2 separate regions of the Homo sapiens genome follow, and region 1 is linked to region 2. Evidence: promoter capture Hi-C in 16 types of primary human blood cells and fetal thymus (Javierre and others, 2016). All regions are on one chromosome and are shown on one strand. The core of a region is centred on a gene start or on the middle of the fragment in contact, and the rest is flanking DNA. Distances in the headings are between cores, read along the strand shown.

Region 1 (6,609 bases), core at 1,323-3,822, 100 kb before region 2:
CACCCACTAGATGTGCAAACACTTGCAAGTTTCTTAACCTCTCTGAGTGAAAGCCCTAACCTCACAAGGTGGTTGTAAAGCTCAGTGGTCAGCATAGAGAAAATGCCCAATCCAAGCGTGTTCTACTCACTCACTCCCATTTCTTCCAGATGGGAAGGAGGACAGATAGGGGCACCACATTAACTCCCTTCCTCACCACCGCAGAGCTCCCGCATACCAACTGTGCCCCAACCAGTGGAGAAAGCCTAGGGTCACAATGGACCTCCTCTTCCACCTTAGGAGACAGACCATGGCCCAGGATGTCAAGCTACATCCAGCAGGGCTATCGGGTGACATATAATGATGGATGATGATCTCTAAGAGGGAGTGGGAATCATGATTTACCATACACCTGCCATGTGCCAGGCATAGGCTGAGCATTCTACATATATGGTCTTTATGAGAGCCCTACGAAGCAGGTGCTATTTTAGTAACCCTGTTTAACAGATGAGTAAAGAGGTTTAGAGAGATGAAAGTCAGGGAGTGACCTTCCCTGGGTCACATAAATATTAGGTGGTGAAGGCAGGTCAGTCTGACTAAGTGACATGCTCTTTGATTTAACTTTTTTTTTTTTGTCTGGCTCTGTCCCCCAGGCTGGAGTGCAGTGGCATAATCTCTGCTCACTGCAGCCTCTGCCTCCCAGGTTCAGGCAATTCTCCTGTCTCAGCCTCTGGAGTAGCTGGGACAACAAGCATGAACCACCACACCCGGCTAATTTTTGTATTTTTAGTAGAGATGGGGTTTCACCATATTGGTCAGGCTGGTCTCAAACATCTGACTCAGGTGATCCACCCACCTCGGCCTCCCAAAATGCTGGGATTACAGGTGTGAGCCACCGCACCCAGCCGATTTAACTTTTTATTATGGGAAAATTAAGCATATAGAAGATTAGACAGAATAGTGTAACCAACCCTCACTCACCTGTCACCCAGCTTCATTGATCAGCTCTTGGCCAGTCTTATTTCATCCTAATCCACATCCATTTCACCCTTTCCTTATTTTGAAGCATATCTCAGACATCATATAGTTTTGTCCATAAATACTTCAGTATGTGCCTTTACAAGACAAAGCCAATTTTAAAAACGTAACTAAAATACCATTGTTGTGCCTTAAAACTTTGTAAAATTTCTTAAGATTACCAAATAACAAGGCAGCACATTTAATTCACATTTCCAATCATTGTTCTACTCTCCCCTGCTGCCTCTTTTAATAAAGATAATAATACCTCTTCCACTGCAAAGCCCTTCCACACACATTATCTTATCTAATGCTCATTATCTGCCCTTGGCCCTACACAGGGTTGGACTTTCTTCATTCCGGAAATGTGAGAAAGTCTTTCTAGAAAGGCTCAGAGAAGTGAATGGACTCACCCAAGGTTACACAGTAGGTTAGGGGCAGAGTCCCTAACCTCCTGTCTCCCAGCCCTTGCCTCTGTTCACCTTAGGGGCCTCCCAATGGGAGGTTTCATCTGTCAAGCACAGAGGCCAAGGCAGTGATGGGGGGTGTCCTGGAGGAGCAGGATGAGAGACTCTCCCTGCAGTGGTGGCAGCCTGGACAGTGCATGTTCTCAGCTGGAGAGCTACAGCCAAGCCTCTTTCTCTTAATAACAACAGTACTAATTCCCTGGCACAGGCTTGTTTGTGTGCAGTAGCTCCCCAAAGCCTAGGCCGTGGCTGGGGCTTATCATCTGGCCTCCCGAGTGGCATGCCTTAAGCCCCCTGCACTAGGGCAGATTGGATACTGAAGCCCAAAAGGAAGGCACAATAACCACATCACTCAGTCAGCCCCATTCTAATTCTGCTTTTCACCTAAGTACAGAAGGAGGGCAAAGGTTGCTCTGTTTTTCTTCTGGGAACCTCCTTGCCTAGCCAGCCCCACACATGCAGAGAATGCCAAGGATTCCATTCTAAATCCCCTGGCTTTTATGGCTAATTCTTCCATTAGTCTGCAAGCTATAGAGCAAACCCTTCAGCCTGGCATTCAAGGCCTGCAGTCTGCCCAACACCACCGAGGTAACCTATCACAGATAGCAAAGAGACCATGGTGCAATTTCAGGGAAAACAAAAAAGCTTTATACAAGCTAATTACTGGAGTTGTCCAGTTAGAGCTTCACTTCCTTAGCTTTTGAATGTGTTGTCTGTCTAAATGCAAACAATGTCGCCACCAATGGTGTCCATTACATCTTCTTCCATACCTCAAATTTAAAGTCCTAATAATACTGCTTGCTACTCATTTGCACAGATGGACTGTGACATTTCATTTTTCTTTGACTTTCCTCATGCTGTTTCCTCTGCCTGGAAACTTATTTCTTCCTTCTTCATCCACTAACTACCAGGTGTATCTCAGAACTCAGCAGAGACATCACCTCCTCCCGGGAAGATTCCTAAATGTCTCCTTCCCCTCATCAGCCTTTCCACTCCCTACATTGGGTGAAGGTCCCTTTCATGGGCTTATCTTTATCTTAGCACTTACTTCAGTGTACCAAACTCAGCAGCTTGTGAGCCTTCAAGGGCAGGGATCATGTGTTGTTCATCTCAGTCTCCCCCAGGCCTAAATACAAGGCGTGGCACATACTAGGATCTCAACTTAATGTGCTCGTTGAAATACTTTATCTCCCTGAACCTTCACAACAGCCCTGTGGGTCAGGCTGCCCAGGAGTCGTGATGCCTCTCATTTTATGGATGTGGAGGCTAAGACAAAGAGGGGTGAGTGACATGTCCCAGGCTCCATGCTGAGAGGGAAGCCAGCATCTCACTAATGCCTCCTGGTCTACCTGCCACCCACTTGGACCAGCCCTGGATGCCCAGGTCAGAGGATGTGTGACAAAGTGGAGCAGAAGGCAGGGCCTCCAGGCACATGCAGCACAATCCCTGTTGCCCCAGGGTAAAGCCCAAATTCCTCCTCCTGGCATAATGACCTTCCCAAGGCCATCTCTCCAGGCTCATCCTTTAAACTCCTTCTCAGATACCCCTGTTGAGCCACACCTGCTTATCCACCTAAGCTTTAAGGGCCTGGGCTCACCTGAGTTTTAAGAACCCTGTACTTGGTGCCTAAACTGTGTCCCCATTGCACCCTGGGACTTCACAATCAATTCAACTGGATGAAGAGGCAGAACAGATGTTCACTGAAGTCTTGCAACGTCAGAGTAAAAAAACAGCAGTGTTTGGAACACACAGATGGCTCAGCCCTTCCCAAACTGTGTTTGTGGAATACTACAATCCTGAGAGATGCTTATAGCTATTCCTCCCACAAAAAACCCCATGGGCAATACATAATAACAATGCCCATAGCATCTTACATGCAATGTTGTCTTTCATCCTGATAATATCCCTAAAAGGCAGGGTCCATATTTTCCTCTGAACTGTGAGGAAACTGCAGCTCACAGAGGCTAATGAACTTCCCTGTGGTTGCACAGCTAGGCAGTAGTGCAACCAGGATTCCAAACTCATCTTGTGCATTTTGCCACTTTGCAAGTCTACCTTTCTGTCTACTGCATTGTTCCTCGAGGAAATTCAAAATGTCATTAGCATGCTGAACATCCTGAGGATTCTTGTCTAAATTTAACTAAGCATTGGCCAGGTGCGGTGGCTCACGCCTGTAATCCCAGCACTTTGGAAGACCAAGGCAGGTGGATCACAAGGTCAGGAGTTTGAGACCAGCTTGACCAATATGGTGAAACCCCATCTCTACTACAAATACAAAAAATAGCTGTGTGTGGTGGCGGGTACCTGCAATCCCAGCTGCCTGGGAGGCTGAGGCAGGAGAATTGCTCAAACCTGGGAGACAGAGGTTGCAGTGAGCGGAGATCACTCCACCGCACTCCAGCCTGGGTGACAGAGCGAGACTCCATTAAAAAAAAAAAAAGTAAGCATCTTCCACACTTATTTGAGGCTGGAACAACTCCCTTCCCACCACTACTTTTTGTTTGCTGAATCCTATTCCTGTCCCACAGAATACAAATGTTTCACTGAACACAGTTTGTGAAGTGCTGCCCTGAAAAATATCAGCTCTTGTCCTGACAACCTGAGAGCACAGGATGGAGGCCGTGAAGGAAGCCTGGAGACCTCTGTGCAGAGCCTCTTTGTTGTACATGTGAGGTTCTGAGACCCAGAGAGTAGCAGGTGTTCTCAGGTTGCACAGCCAAGGAGGGGAGGCACCATGGCCAAGAACGGCCTTTTCACTCCAGGCAGGCTGGCAGGGCTGGCATTTTGGAAAGCTCTCAGCAGACAGAATTCACACACCTTCCTGTAGAGGCCGCACAGGATTCAAGAGATGGAAACTGCTGGAAGGAGCACTGTCTTATTGAAAGTAATCTCAAGATCCCAGGACCACAAAGCTAGATGTTTCACATCAGTCTAATTCCCCCAACACACAGGCCTAGAGAGGAGAAGGACTTATTCAAGGCCACAAAGCAAGTTCAAAGCACAGCTGGAACTAGAATCCAAGTGTCCTGCCCCCTGCCTCCAGCTCCAAGGCTCTGTCTGGCCTTTCCTGCAGTTGTTGATATGTCTGTCTGTCTTCTCAGCCTGGCCAGAGGCCCTTTGAGAGCAAGGTTCATGCTTGGCTTCCCAGCTCCCAGCACTTAGGACTAAAGAAATATTGGTAAGTGAAGGAAGGCAGGGCCTGGTGGCTCAGACCTATAATCCCAGCACTTCGGGAGGCTGAGGCAGGAGAATCACTTGAGGTCAGGAGTTCTACATAGCCTGAGCAACATAGCATGATCCCATCTCCAAAATAATAATAATAATAATAATAATTAACCGGACGTGGTGGTGCGTGCCTGCAGTTCCAGCTACTTGGGAGGCTGAGGCAGGAGGATCACTTGAGCCCAGGAGTTTTGAGTTACAGTGAGCTGATCACATCGCTGCATTGCAGCCTGGGAAACAGAGCAAGATTCTGTCTCAACAACAACAACAAAAAAGGTGGGGGGGGGGAAATGAATACATAAAATATTTGATTTTTACCAAAAACCCTCTTTCTCAGCTTGATCATTTACAGGGCTGGGATTATCTTTTGGCTACTTCCAAAAATGATTGCACCCTCAAAGGATAAATATTTGCTACCAAAAAGTAACAGCAACACTTATATTGTGCTTAATATATATGTGTGTATACACACACATACACATGGCTGGTATGAGGAGTATGGCAGTAAACATGACAGATTCTGTCCCTACTGTTCATGCCTTCATAAAGCTTACATTCTGGTAAAACAGATCATCATTAAACAATTTATTTCCCAATTAATTAGCCAATTAAAATGGTGGTAATTGCTACAAAATAGCAGTAAACTGCACTGTGATTAGCTTAATCAGAATCGAAAGTGCTAATCTGCTGAAGGTCTTAAAAGCTGTCATTAAAAGAAACTTTTCCATAGCTCCATACAGCAGTTGTAAAAAGAAAGCAGACAGAAAGAAGTTCTTATTTATCTGAGGAAAATTAAAAGAAATTCTTAATCAACACATATTCCTGCAAAACAGGACTCCTTACAAGCAAATTAGAGAGAAGATATTCAAGAGATATTCAGCAAGAATACCTTCTGAGCACCCACTGTACCATGGAACCTGATGGTAGCTATCCCAACAATACCATTAAGTAGGAGTTATTACCGTAGTTAAAGAGGAGAAACCAAAGGGTCAGAGAGGCTAACCAATTCTTCAAAGTTCAGCCATGCAGCTACCAAGTAGGACCAGGATTTAAGCCCAGGATGATGTACAGCAATGCCCAGAATCTTTTCCTACACCATGTTGTGTTTTCTAATCTTAAAAGCTGATCAACCAAGAGTTGAAACTTTGGACTCTGACATCATAGGTATGCAAAGTCTTCTTGTCAATGCCATCTCTCCTTCATGGGGCCCTGGAGAAAGAACATTGCATTTTCTGGGAACCAAGAGGATCAAAATGAGAAGATCATGTATGATGCAAACCACACTTCTTGGGGGAATTGTTAATTACTGGAATTATTGCATTCTTTTCCTCTGAGATATAGGTTTCCTGAACAAAAAGCTTTAATATTTTATTTATGCAAATGGAGAAACTATTCTATATCCCTCAAATAAGATGCTTAAGTGGGATCTTTTCTCTGCATTTTCCTTCTCTAAGGCAATTCCATCTCTTGGCGCAGCCAAACCTTGCCCAGAATTCCTGGCCCCAATTTCATGAGCAAAACTATATCCCACTAATCCAGTTTTCTCGTAGTTTAAAAGGGACAGTGGAGCTGCACTTTTCTTTTGAAGGAAAAAGGGCTCATCTTTTTCTGGATTCATCCATTGGCCTGGGAACGTTCTTTATCTGATCACCACATGGGCCTGACTCCACAAATGCCTTTTCCCATCAACGGGAGTACTTTGGAGCATTTTCTAACATCCAGAAAGAATCCAACTTTGGAATAGGGAAGTATAGACTATGCCTTGGCCAGTGTGCCTTCCTGGAAGCCGGCTCTTGGAACCTCACTGCTCCCACAACCCCTAGCCTATTCTATCATGGTGGTCTGGGAACCTGAATGTCCACCGCACTGCTGCTCCTGAAACAGACATTCTGTCTTCTTGAGAGTGAGCAGGGAAGAGGGCACC
Region 2 (6,940 bases), core at 1,610-4,109:
GAAACTGAGAAGGAAGCAATGGGAAGAGATAGGAAATGCCCCGAGGAGATTTTTGTGTATGGTTTTGATCCAAACGGGTAAACTTGTGACCTGTGTACTCACCAAATCATTTAATGTGAACTCACTGTGGACTCACAGAATCTTCAAATGCATTATTCAAAGAGAACATTTATGAAATAGAAATTTAGGGGTCCTTGGTTTGCGAAAATCTTAGAATCATGATCTTGGAAATTCTAATCTCATGATGCTAGGTATTTGGTCTCGGCCACAGGAGTAGCTTGATATTAACAAAGTTTGAGAAAACCATCAGAATTCTAGAAGAATGAGGTCACAGACACAAGACACTGAAGAACAGAAAATCCTGAGACAAGAAGGCTTTTAGCCATAGTCGTTGCAGCTTAAAAGTAGAGGATCATAAAGTCATGGGACTAATCATTACAGCATATAATCACAAACATTAGAAGAATTATTGGAATCAGATTATTTGAACTACAGAATAGCAGATCCAGCACTAACATTTTAGAATTAAGGAAGGAGAGAACTGCGGATTTACAGGATTCAAATTCTTCCAATCAGACATTCCTAAACAGGAATTCAAATTAAATAATATATAACTTAGAGTGGAAAAAATAAAAAACTGGAGAAGTGGCAGCTTCAAGAGTGGCATCATATTTTCAGGCACAAAATCTTAGGTCCCCGTTTTTTGTTTGTTTTGTTTTGCTTTTAAGAGACCGGGTCTCCCTTTGCTGCACAGGCTGGAGTGCTGTGGCTACTCACAGGCACAATGATTGTGCACTACAGCCTGGAACTCCTGGGCTCAAGCGATCTTCCTGCCTTAACCTCCAGTAGCTGGGACTACAGGCTCCCGCCACCGTGCCTGGTTTAGTCCCAGTATCTTAATACATAGGTTTTTAGACTTTGACTAGAAGCTTAAGTCAAAGGAATATAAGCATAGTCAAAGTTAGACTCCCAGTCTTGGAATCTTAGAATTACAGGGTCGCAGGATCGCAGGATCGCATTCTTTAGATTTATGGAATCACGTTAGGACAACGGTCGTCCAGAATTTAAAATCTAGATATCTGAATCTCAGAATCTTGAAAGTTACTGAGAGCCACGAAATCCCGTATTAAAAGGTGCCTATAATATAATCCAGTTAAAAATTTTAAAATTTGAAGTTTTTCCTCCTTTGTAAAAACGAAACAGGACGAAATCTGGGTTTTTTGCTTCTCCATTACTTGGGAAGAAGGAAACCAGGAGTTTTGTTTAGCGAGTGTAAAGCCCCTCTCCCTTCGTTCGACCAACCCTCTGCCGCAGAAGGTTGTCAAGCAAACGCTTTGAGCGTTTCCACACACCGGGTCGACGGAGCAAGGATCTGGGCTTTGCCTCGCTCTTCCGAAGGCAGCTGCCCAACGCTTGGCCGGGCTTAGCCTGCCCTCAGCTCACCGCCACGAAGAACGCGACTAAAACCCTGGAAGGCATGCCACCCGTTACTGGCCAGAACTCTCGTCTTGGGATCTCCCACACTCACCTGGCACCACCATCCGCGCGGCTCTGCACCCACAGCCCCGGCCCGCCCCCCCCCCCCACCCCGGAAAGCTGCGTCCGGGCTGGAGCCACTGGAACCCGCGCCAAGGCCCGGAATCCTATACGTAGCAGGGGCCTCGGAGATCAGCACACGCCCTCCAGCTGCTATTTAACAGAGTAGAACACTGAGGCCCTGCGAGGGGACAAGGACAGGCCCTGGATCTCCCAGTGAATGGCCAGGGAACGAACCCGGGCCAGAGGGGCCGCGCCGCGAGGATCTCAGGTTAGGACCAAGTTCCGGCTCAGGGACAGCAGGAAAGGAACTCAGAAATTGGACACCCATGAAGCAAACGTGTCCCGACTGCCCGCCCCTTCCCCCGGAGACGCGCCCACCCGGCCACCGCTCTCTTCCCACTCCCCCATTACCCGCAGCCCTCACTCCCCGCTGCGGGAAGGGGCTGCTTGGCTGCCTCTGGGGGTCTTCAGAGCTACCCTGGTCCCGGGGGATTGGAGGAGGAGGTTACCTATCCTGCGTCGTCTTTAATCCGTGCACCACTATCCATCAAATAGAGACAGATCCTGGGCCTCTCAAAGACGGATGATTGGGGGTGGTGATTGGCCTATCCCTAAATATCTACCACGCAAGGACTCTTGAGAGATCCAGACCCCGGTACAGTCGAGGGACCTGGGGCCCAAAAAGGGAAAGCGGCTACCTCTACCACACAGTTGGGAAGCGCAGTCCTAAAGGAGACGCAGGTTGGAGACTCCGCTAAGCGGAGAAGCCGCAGTGGGGCCATGGCAAGTCACCTTCCCTTTCGGGCCTAGGAATACTCATTCGAAAGATGGGGGGACTGGAGTGCCGAGTGGCTGTGGCAGCCACGATTGGGGTTTGGAAACCATCCTGAAAGGCCCGGGGAGCCAGTCTCCTGGAACTTCTCCCTCCCCATTCCCACAAAAACCAAGCGCCCTCTCGGCCAATTCTCACCCTCTCAGGACAAAAAAGTGAGATGAGCCCGTCCTTTCACCTGCGAGTCCAAGCCCTTGGCAGAGGCCTGAAAAGTCCGAAAACTCCGAGTTCGGGCGCTGAGGTCTCCCGAGCCGGTTCCTGAACTCTCCGGGCCTCAGTCGATCGGGGTGCGGAGGGGGCCGACCCGGGGGATCTCCAAGCGCCCTCCCCGCCCTGACGCTGTGGGGCTCCTACCGCGCCGCCACAGCTGCTCCTACCTGGGGAGGTGCGCCCGGGCCCCGGGGGGCGGGCAGTCGGGGGGCGGGCAGGGAACCGGTGCCGCCCCACGCTTCGTGGCCCCTTTAAGGAGGGGAAGCCGGCGGAGGGAGGAGCCGGTCCGGTGTGTGCAGGGGAGCGCCTCGCCAGCGGTCCGCAGGGCTGGAGACCCACGCCGTGGAGAGGACCAGCCTCAGGTCGCCCCGCCTGGGCCCGCGCCCCGACCTCGCTGCCCCCGCCTCGCCTCTCTGCCCGTGGCGCTTACGGCCACCTTGGCCTCGGGGGCAGGGCATGGGCGGCCCCCGCCAGATCGCCCAGCGCCAGTACTAACTGCCCTCGCTCTGGCCTTCGAGCCCGAAGCCTCTTCTGCGCGCACAACCTAGGCAGTAATCCTAAACTAGCGGGCACCACAGACCAGCTGCAGCCACCCCAACCCAGGGATCACTTCCGGACCCCTCGACCGCCCGGCACCAGCGCGCAAGGGACCCTTCAGCCGGAGACCAGAGTCCAGTCCCGGTCACGAGGCCACCGCCGCTGCCCGCCTCGAGAAGCACCACGCGGGCTGAGCCGTCGGCTAGCGGGTCACTCCCGAGCCTCTGTCTGCACCGCGCCAGCCCCAGACCACGGACGCTGAGCCTCCAGCGCGTGCCAGCCTGGGCCGCTGGGCTCTCGGGGCCAGCCCGCGACGATCCCCTGAGCTCTCCGCAGAAGGGCCGAGCGTCCGTTCCGGGGACGCCAGGCCCGCCCCCGCCCCCCGACAGCCGCGGGGATCCAGAGCCCGGGGGTGCGGGACGCCCGCGCCATGACTGCCGAGAGCGGGCCGCCGCCGCCGCAGCCGGAGGTGCTGGCTACCGTGAAGGAAGAGCGCGGCGAGACGGCAGCAGGGGCCGGGGTCCCAGGGGAGGCCACGGGCCGCGGGGCGGGCGGGCGGCGCCGCAAGCGCCCCCTGCAGCGCGGGAAGCCGCCCTACAGCTACATCGCGCTCATCGCCATGGCCATCGCGCACGCGCCCGAGCGCCGCCTCACGCTGGGCGGCATCTACAAGTTCATCACCGAGCGCTTCCCCTTCTACCGCGACAACCCCAAAAAGTGGCAGAACAGCATCCGCCACAACCTCACACTCAACGACTGCTTCCTCAAGATCCCGCGCGAGGCCGGCCGCCCGGGTAAGGGCAACTACTGGGCGCTTGACCCCAACGCGGAGGACATGTTCGAGAGCGGCAGCTTCCTGCGCCGCCGCAAGCGCTTCAAGCGCTCGGACCTCTCCACCTACCCGGCTTACATGCACGACGCGGCGGCTGCCGCAGCCGCCGCCGCCGCCGCCGCCGCCGCCGCCGCCATCTTCCCAGGCGCGGTGCCCGCCGCGCGCCCCCCCTACCCGGGCGCCGTCTATGCAGGCTACGCGCCGCCGTCGCTGGCCGCGCCGCCTCCAGTCTACTACCCCGCGGCGTCGCCCGGCCCTTGCCGCGTCTTCGGCCTGGTTCCTGAGCGGCCGCTCAGCCCAGAGCTGGGGCCCGCACCGTCGGGGCCCGGCGGCTCTTGCGCCTTTGCCTCCGCCGGCGCCCCCGCTACCACCACCGGCTACCAGCCCGCAGGCTGCACCGGGGCCCGGCCGGCCAACCCCTCCGCCTATGCGGCTGCCTACGCGGGCCCCGACGGCGCGTACCCGCAGGGCGCCGGCAGTGCGATCTTTGCCGCTGCTGGCCGCCTGGCGGGACCCGCTTCGCCCCCAGCGGGCGGCAGCAGTGGCGGCGTGGAGACCACGGTGGACTTCTACGGGCGCACGTCGCCCGGCCAGTTCGGAGCGCTGGGAGCCTGCTACAACCCTGGCGGGCAGCTCGGAGGGGCCAGTGCAGGCGCCTACCATGCTCGCCATGCTGCCGCTTATCCCGGTGGGATAGATCGGTTCGTGTCCGCCATGTGAGCCAGCGTAGGGACGAAAACTCATAGACACATCGGCTGTTCACACGTTCCCCGCAATCTGAGAACGAACAGGAATGGAGAGAGGACTCAACTGGGACCCACGTGGAAAAGACCGAGCAGGCCACAGAGGCTCGGTCTCCCCGCGCACAGCGTAGGCACCCGGTGTACTCTGTAAACGGGAGGAGGTGGGGCGAGGCAGCCAGAGCCCTTGGACTGGCACAGGGACCCTCGATGGAGCGAAGCCCTCAAACGGGATGCTTTCTGGTATTCTATCGGGGAGGGTCCTTGGCGGTAACCAGAGGGCAGCGTAGTGTCAACACCAGAGACCAGGATCCAAATTGTGGGGAATCAGTTTCAGCCTTCCATGTGCTGCCGGAACTCGGGCCTTTTTACGCGGTTCGTCCTCTAGTGCCTTTAACTGCGTTACTACAATAAAAGGCTGCGGCAGCGCCTTTCTTCTTAAAGTGAGGAGGACAAATTTGCAAAAGAAATAGGCTTTTCTTCTTTTTTAAATTGGAGAAATCTCTGCTCTGGTTGACCTGGGCTGGTTTTCCCTGTCTCTGAGAACTTGAGACCTAGCTCCGAGTTGAACTGTGCGTCAGCACTCCAGTCCCATCACCTGAACCTTCAGTCTCCCCCATCTGTTACACTAGAGGGCTGCAGGACTCTATCCACCGCCCCCGGGTTATCATTCAGGGCCCCATCATCTTGGATGCTGCCCTGCGTATTTGGCAGCAATGGTGGGCCACCCAGGGCCTCTGAGTAGCCACCCAAAGCCTAGCCGCTGTTCTAGGGAACGGAAAAGAGTTCATGGCCAAGCGTCTAACCTAAAGTCCCAGGATTGGCTCCAGGCAGCAATTATATCATAACTTATTGAACTTTTGAGCAGGACGTGCTGGTAATTTCATGGCTGTTACTGCCCAGTCATAAATCTGCTTTTCCATTATAAGGCAGAGAGAAGTACATTCGTTCATTTGTCCACTGTTTCTTGTCATCACGCAGCCCTGGACCCAAAGGGTGAACTAAAGTTTAAGGAGATGAGAGGATTCAAGGAGCCCGTTGGTGACGCCTTTCAGTAGCTGGGGAGGGCTCTTCCATCCCCAGCACCCCCTGCTACACCTCAGCAGCCTCCCCCATGCAAAAAGGAAAGAGAAAAATTAAGTTAGGGCAGTCAGTAAAGTGAGCTTTAGAAAGAAACTGGAATTTTAACTTCATTTTGTATCTTGCTTAAGTAGCAGGCTCACTAAAATTAGAGAAAGTCCAATAACTCTCCCCCTTTCCCTTGAGAAATCTTTAAGTTTCGATTCTGGAGCAAAAACTTTCAGCATTAAATATTTCAGAGGCTCCATTCACAGCTTTCAGATAAACTGGAGTGTTCAGATGGACTGTTTTAATAAAAATCTTTGAGCAAGTGAGTTATGGCAAGAGAAACTCAGCCTCTTTCTGTATAAACTTAACAGGGAAGGGCTGGGGTGTGAAAAAGAAGATTGTATGAAAACCATTGGTAATTTTTATTTTTTATTTTTGGGACTGCACTATCCTGTTCACGAAGACATGTGAACTTGGTTCAGTCCAAATGGGGATTTGTATAAACCAGTGCTCTCCATTAGAAATATGGTGCAAGCCACATATGTAATTTTAAATATTCTAGTAGCCACATTAATAAAGTAAAAAGAAACAGGTGAGGTTAATTTGAATGATATACTTAACCCAACATATCAAAAATATTATGATTTCAACATATAATCAATGTAAAAATTGAGATGTTTTGCTCTCCTTTTACATGAAGGGTTTACAATTTGGAGTGTGTTTTACACTTACAGCTTCTCTAAATGTGGACTAGTCACCTGCTAGGTGTTCAGTAGCAACACTGTGTTGTGCAGTGCAGGTCTAGGTGCTGGCCCTTCCTGGCTTTGGTGGTGGTACCTGGAAGCACTTGAGCGCTGACCCTGCCACCCGTCGGCCCAAATTCCAGACCCAGCCTTGTGACCTTGAAGAGTGCAGGTATTGGGCCGCCCTCCTCTCCCTAAGAATCTTTGCAGGTATGGAGTTCAAGGGTTCTCCTTCATTCAGCTAGACAAGCTGGCTGTCCCAGGTGCAGAGGTCAGGATGACTTGCCTGGTTGAGAAGAATGGGAAAGTAAGAGTTCTCCACCCAGGAGTTTTGTTCTGGGCTGCAGAAGAGCCCAGGCGTGGGACTGGGGCTGGAGAAGGCTGGTTTTTGCCCTTAGTGCCAGAGTTGAGGCTTTCTCTGTTTCCTAATGAGCAAGTC

Evidence for each region. Contacts are between HindIII fragments. The CHiCAGO score rates a contact against its expected background, and 5 or more counts as called.
Region 1: a fragment that was not itself captured here is called in contact with the fragment with the promoter of FOXE1 in region 2 in 1 of 17 cell types (endothelial precursors); the score reaches 6.1 in endothelial precursors.

What each region holds. Positions count from the first base shown.
Region 1 is chr9:97,745,872-97,752,480 of GRCh38, forward strand. All of the region lies in intron 5 of PTCSC2 (papillary thyroid carcinoma susceptibility candidate 2), which reads right to left. Among named protein-coding and RNA genes, the nearest start is that of XPA, 52 kb to the left of the region's middle. The HindIII fragment of the contact is 932 bases long and covers 2,107-3,038 here.
Region 2 is chr9:97,850,367-97,857,306 of GRCh38, forward strand. It overlaps FOXE1 (forkhead box E1), which reads left to right and starts at 2,860. Exons shown (of 1, transcript NM_004473.4): 1 at 2,860-6,351. The coding sequence starts at 3,549. The coding sequence ends at 4,670. PTCSC2 (papillary thyroid carcinoma susceptibility candidate 2) reads right to left here and starts at 2,714. Exons shown (of 11, transcript NR_147055.1): 1 at 2,550-2,714. RefSeq lists an enhancer at 1,327-1,828. The HindIII fragment of the contact is 6,931 bases long and covers 928-6,940 here.